Regions from separate parts of the Homo sapiens genome. Here region 2 is linked to region 1. The links are contacts of gene promoters, found by promoter capture Hi-C in blood cells and fetal thymus (Javierre and others, 2016). All regions are on one chromosome and are shown on one strand. Each heading gives the region's core, a stretch centred on a gene start or on the middle of the fragment in contact. The rest is flanking DNA. Distances are from core to core; before and after follow the strand shown.

What was found. Contacts are between HindIII fragments. The CHiCAGO score rates a contact against its expected background, and 5 or more counts as called.
Region 2: a fragment that was not itself captured here is called in contact with the fragment with the promoter of SORBS2-AS1 in region 1 in 2 of 17 cell types (total B cells and naive B cells); the score reaches 8.8 in total B cells.

The regions. Positions count from the first base shown.
Region 1 is chr4:185,586,488-185,589,792 of GRCh38, forward strand. It overlaps SORBS2-AS1 (SORBS2 antisense RNA 1), which reads left to right and starts at 1,438. Exons shown (of 4, transcript NR_186082.1): 1 at 1,438-1,703; 2 at 2,667-2,742. SORBS2 (sorbin and SH3 domain containing 2) reads right to left here. Exons shown (of 27, transcript NM_001395207.1): 26 at 3,192-3,298; 27 at 1-1,201. The coding sequence ends at 1,140. RefSeq lists enhancers at 535-1,734, 1,013-1,092. The HindIII fragment of the contact is 692 bases long and covers 905-1,596 here.
Region 2 is chr4:185,039,870-185,043,008 of GRCh38, forward strand. No RefSeq gene overlaps it. Among named protein-coding and RNA genes, the nearest start is that of LINC02436, 10 kb to the right of the region's middle. The HindIII fragment of the contact is 163 bases long and covers 1,572-1,734 here.

The DNA of each region.
Region 1 (3,305 bases), core at 188-2,687:
TTATTATAGTAAAAATAATTGTAGTAATCCTAATCCTTGCTAAAACCAACTTTAATACTTGTGATGCTTCTGTACTCTATTTCTATAAAATAATGTGTGAGATTCTATTACATTTCCATAAAATGTACAACATATCATATGGATTATATGTTCTCATACAATCTCAAATGTGTATGTGTACACACAGTGAAATCTTACCTACTAGTATTGCTTACAGATACTTTCAGGTGTCTGTTAGAATAATTCTTTGCACCTCTCACTAACACTGCTTTTACTTACATTTTTTCAGATAAATAAAACACTAAGAGCTCATTGTTCATGATGCTGATCATTACATTTTAATATAAAATAGCGATGCAACTTTACAACACAATAGTTTTCCCCTGTAGCCTAGCTCAGCCTCTTGTATTGTCATGATTATTACCGAAGGCTTTTATTTACTTACTGTTTGCACTTCTAAAAAATGCAAACAAATTGCAGAAAAAGACTCCTATTTGAAAACTCACATTCAATCAGCAAAATCACACTCATCCAAATTAACTCGCCTCCTCTTGCTTTAAAGGTTGTAATCACTGTGCATATTACAACATGTATGTGCAGGCAAACAATAGCTAAAGTACAGTTACAGTTGTCATATTGTGTAAACCAAGACACTAGGCAAACTTGTGAAAAGAATACACACTGCCAAGCGAAGAATATGAAAATGCAAACCACAGCATTCCCCAATAAACAATTTTCTGGTCGTCTTGGGGGAGAACATCGCCTGGGGGGAGATGTTGAAATGGAGCCACGAGGCTGGACAGCCTCCTGGAGACACTTTTTTTTTTTTTTTTTGCCTCAAATATTTGACCATTTTTAAATATCATGATTTTTTTCTTTCTGATCCCACATTTTGACGTGTCAAAGCTTAGAGCAGGAAGTAGGAATCCACACTTTCACGGAGGGGGACCAGCCTGCCATGTCGTCCCCAGGCTCACAGCAGCGGCGGCTACTCTGCTGGTGGTTTGGTGGCAGGTGGAGATGGTGACGGCGCATTGGAAACCGTAAGGCATGACAACGGGAGGCCCGCGGGGTGTTTCAGGCGCGTTGACGCAGGTGCATGGCTGGCAGGCGGCCTCTACAGAAGGAGGGAGCGCAATTCACAGCCTCTTGACGTAGTTTCCGGGGAAAGTACCAAAGAATTTGGTTCTTCTTGAGGTCCCTGAAAATAGAAGCGAGTCATGAAAGGGGGGTGACAACGATATCAGTTCATACACATGGGCTTGAATACTTCCCATTTACAAGGCCTCGGAAGACAGCAAGCCCCGAGGGGTTTGGAAAAGAAGGCAGGCAACTCACATGAAGCCCATAGGCAGACAAAATAAGCAGTGTTAGCTGGTTGCCTGACGCTCTCACTGCCCCTCCGGCATAAATGCTGCGCTGCCATCGCGGCAGGCTAAACAGAAATGCTGAGCCTCCCAAGCTAAAGGGAAAGTCAGCCCTGCTGAGGAGGGGGGCGGAGGAGCTCAGTCACTGAGGCTGCCACACCAGAGTCGGGGGTGAGGGATCAAGGCGAGGCTGACAGGTGACAGGGTGAGTGGAAAATCCTAAGAGCAAAGCTTCTCAGGGACCAGCAACCCGCGCAACACAGGTGCGACATGAAGACATCATCTGTGGCAGGCTGTCGCTGTTCCAACAGTTTTATCATCTTACAGAAGATCATGGTCAGTGCCACATCATTTATTTAAAAACAGCACTGCCAGAGTCCTTCATCGAGTATACAATTTTTCAACAATTTACAAATCATTAATGAAAAAAAGGATTAAGCACTATTTGTGTGTGGGAGTTCTATCAGTGGCATGATTTTTAACATGGTGTGTGTTTAACCACACGCACAAATGGCTATCATAATTATGTTCGCCTCTGGTTTCAAATAATGTAATTCCTTGGACACTTCTTGTAAAAGTTGGTGCACTAAATTGCTAAATTCTTCTTTAGGCAGCGCAGATGGACCGGATAAGGGTCTCTCAAGCTTCATCTGTCTCCTATATCCTGGCACTTACTGCCTTGGTTTGATGGCTGTTTTTCTTTTTCCTTGGCTAGGCAAGCCATTTTACGTTTCTCCTCCCTCCTCCTCCTCCCTCCTCCTCCTCCTCCTTGTTTTTGAGATGGAGTTTCGCTCTTGTCGCCCAGGCTGGAGTGCAGTGGCATGATCTCGGCTCACTGCAACCTCTGCCTCTTGGGTTCAAGCAATTCTCCTGCCTTAGCCTCCTGAGTGGCTGGGATTACAGGCACCTGCCACCAAGCCCAGCTGATTATTGTACTTTTGGTAGATACGGGGTTTCACCATGTTGACCAGGCTGGCCTCGAACTCCTGGCCTCAGGTAATCCACCCGCCTCGGCCTCCCAAAGTGCTAGAATTACAGGCATGAGCCACCGCACCCGGCCTTTTTTTCTTCTTTTAATGGAAATAAAATCAGAGGCTTGTGGCCGCACCAGGGCCTCAATTCTTTCATGATTTTGCCACCGATGGATGTCTAGAGTGAGCCCTCCTCTCCTCTCACCTTTCCTCTCTTCCATTCTCTGCCCTGCAGCCTGTGTTTCCTTTTCACCTCTTTCTGTGGCCCAGTGTAAAATACTTTTGTCTACAAATGTTTTCCCAGAAGACCTCTCGTCTTTTTTTTTAGGATGGTAAAGATGAAGTTGCCTTTTAAGTGGGAAGAATGGAACGTCTCTCTGCTTCCACCACAAACTAAAGTTAAGGTGAGTCACTGAATGTTCGGGCATCTACGTCAGACCTAGGAAACGGGAGAGCTGTTCACTTAATCTCACTCCCTCTGAAATTAGATTCTCACTGTGGACAACTAACATTTTCCACAGCACAGAGCGTTGATATTTCTCTTCTGGGGACCATTTGTTGTTGTTGTTCTTAGATCTCAATCTTTCCTGGTTTTTGCTATTTAAAGAAATTGTCTTCTCTCAGTTGAGTTGGAAATAAAGCTCGCAGAAAATCACACATAGCTGAAGCAGTGAATACTAAACTATATTAAAAATGCAATAGCCTTGGGATTACATTGTGCATATGAATGTCTGAAAGATCAAAGGCATTACGAATTCAAAGGAAGCTCGGCCATCACAGCAAACCACGGGAGTGAGCAAACTCAAGCAAATTACAAAATAGCCGAAGGTGCCTGAGGAAGAAGCGCACATACCCACAAACCAGCCGTCATCACACTTTTCCATGACATCAATGACATCACTTTCTCTGAGCTCCAGCTCATCTTCATTCCTGGGAGTATAGTTATACAGAGCCTGAAACCTTAAAC
Region 2 (3,139 bases), core at 403-2,902, 550 kb before region 1:
AACAAACCCACGAGGGATTCTCTTTCACTCTTCTGTGCTTCTGGGAATTAAAATAGAAGGGACTTGTATTGTCAGCTGCAAAACAGCAGGGGGAGCTCATGAGGTTTTTAAGGCAGCTATTACTCGCCACCCCACCACCTCCAAAAACATTGCATTAAGTATACACTTAACAGCACCAAGGAGAAATTCAAAGGGAAAAGGAAGTGCGAGTGAGCGCGTGCACACACACACAAACACACATGCACGCGCCTTCTAATGAGAGGTGAAAATGGACACAATCCATTTTATAATAAAGGACTGACAAACTAACACTTAATCCAGACCTCTGAAGCCACCTCTCAGACTATCCTTACTACCTTAACAGTCCAGCGTAGCCGTGGGTACCCAAGACCCCATCGCTGCTCTTGATTCTTGACCATCTTTCTCATGTGTCCAAACTAAATTCCTAGACAGCTGGCTTAAAACTATAGTGCTTAAGTTTTCCAAACGTGTTTTTAAATATTCAGTGAAATTCTTTTGGAGAACAACTTAAATAGTACTTTAAAAATTAGGTTATAAACCACAGAGTAGTTTTTAAAATACATGAACTATAGACCTTTGTCACTGAGGAGAAAGAATGAGGGGTCCAGGGTCTATATTGTGAGTTTTCGGGACAGGGTAAGAAGTCACTCCCTGTGAGGACAGAGTGGCCACAGAGGAACAGAAGAGTATTTCCTACTGGGGAGAAATCACAAGGGACACTGGTCTTGCTTGCCATGTTGTCCTTTGAGTCTTAACCCGGGACACAGGAATCAATGGTTAGCATTAATGAGTCATCAACAGCTCTCATTCTGAGGCCTAACAGAAAGCTAAGCTGTGAAGCCGTGGATAACCACACACAGGGACTCGGGCTGCTGATGGGCTTGCCAGGGCTAGGGTGGGATGTGAGGTCTTACCTTTGCTCCTCCTCTATCTACAAGTATGTCTGAATCACAGATGAGCGTCTGAGAACGCATCTTGAAACAGCTGTCACCTCTCCTAGAGGGGCTCATTTTTGGCATTGGGAAAACAGATTTTGGTGAGTGGCCGCAATGTCTTACAAATTCCCTGAAGTTCAGGGCCTTTTCTTGGTTTGTGATCAGTGTTTCCCAAAGAATACAGCTCTCTCCTCATGTCACTTCAGGATGACATGAGGATGACCTTTAAAATATTGTGAGTCCTACTTGTAATGGAACAATGAGACGTGGAATCGTGAAAGGAACTAGGATAAATATGTGACTATGTAGAAATAAGCTACTAGCTCTGTTTTATGCCATTGACTTTTCTATGTCTGAACACTTTTTCAAGGACTTTATAGAAAAGCAAATTGAAAAATAATAAAGTGTTTTCAATAAACTCCATCAAATGAATACATGCATAAATTATGCATAATTATAAATTATGATATTTAATTTTCCTTAAAAATTATCTATTTGTTCTCCCAAACTATATTATAATTTATTCGTTAGAAAAGCATATATTTTCAAAGAAAAACTGTAGTAAAGAAGGACAGTACAACATATTACCTTAAAAAAAACTCTTTAAACGATGTAAGCTTTCTTACCTCTTTAAAAGGAAGTACATATATTCCTGGAGGAGGCATCTGAAGTTCCTTTCATCTAGATCTTCAAATTCTTTTTTCTACTGCCTGATAGTGTTTGGAAACCAAATTTTTATTTATCTTAAGTAACTTTTGAAGAAAAAAAGAATAAAGGAAGCTTTACTTATTTTCTAAATACTGATTTAATTCAGTTTTAATAAGAGGAATCTGAGTATTAGGTTCCAATTTTTATGTGAATTACATAAAATATTAAAATTACCAGAAACTCCAAATTACAGTGATCTTGAAGAATTTAGAACAACCCAAGAAGTCAACATAGCTGTAGGATGTATTTCATATCAATATACTGGGCAAAAATTAGATATTATGTGTTCCTTTTTCTGTAATGTTGATCCAACTAAGTGTCACAATGAGTTAAGTAAAGCTAAGTCATGCCAGTTTGCTGGGACTTGATTTCCTCTTCAATAAAATGAGGGGTTTCAGTTAGATGATTCTTAGTTTTCTCCCAAGAGCTAACAATTAGAACTCTGGCCAGGTGCAGTGGCTCAAGCCTGTAATCCCAGCACTTTGGGAGGCAGAGGTGGGCAGATCACTTGAGCCCAGGAGTTCAAGACCAGCCTGGGCAACATGGAGAAACCCCATCTCTACAAAAACACAAAACTTAGCTGGGTGTGGTGGCTTGTGCCTGTAGTCCCAGCTATTTGGAAGGCTGAGGCAGGAGGGTCACTTGCGCCCAGGACGTTGAGCTGCAGTGAGCCATGATGGCACCACTGTGCTCCAGCCTGGGCGACAGAGTGAGATCTTGTCTCAAAAAAAGAAAGAAAGAAAGAAAGAAAAAGTACTCTGGCAACACAAGCATCCACCCCCAGTAGTTCTATTAAACTACATGAAACATAAAGGATCTACATGCTTAAGGGGCCTAGATTGCTCCCTAATTTTAGAACTAGATAGGTCATACCAGTATATAGCTAAGCCCTTCAAAGAATATGGTAGTGAGGGGAGAGCTGATGGAATTTGAAATGTCCCTTGGTGATAGAAACTCACTTGACAGCAACATAAACAAAGACTTAATAAAACAAGTAGTAAATTCACAGGAAGGAAGAGTAGCCCTAAAATTTACAAGTCTAGTAAGTCCCACACTTTCTGGGTTGATGGCTATCTCCTCCTGGCATATAGCTCAGTAACATATACAGTATCTGACAAAGATGGCCTCTGTTAGGCTCTTCTCATGTGCTAGAAGTCCTTATTATTGACCATACCAACCACCAGTAGAATAACAGACACAATGGTAATCCCAGCTATTCATTCCCGCACTGTTGGCTCTCGCCATACACAGGTAAGAGGGCTATGCAGAATGATTCTCCAGTGGTCAGGATTCGGATCCAAGGATGTGCTTGCCAAATTCCCTTGTCATTATGGAACTGAGGTTCAGAAAAGGACTCATAAGTTCAAAGTTGTTGTGGCCTCTGGAAGAGCACAGGGGTCTTTCCCCACTCACCCCCTCCCTTTGGGAGGGATAGGTCGGGACATTGCCTTTCACTCTGGCCCCCAAGGCATTTT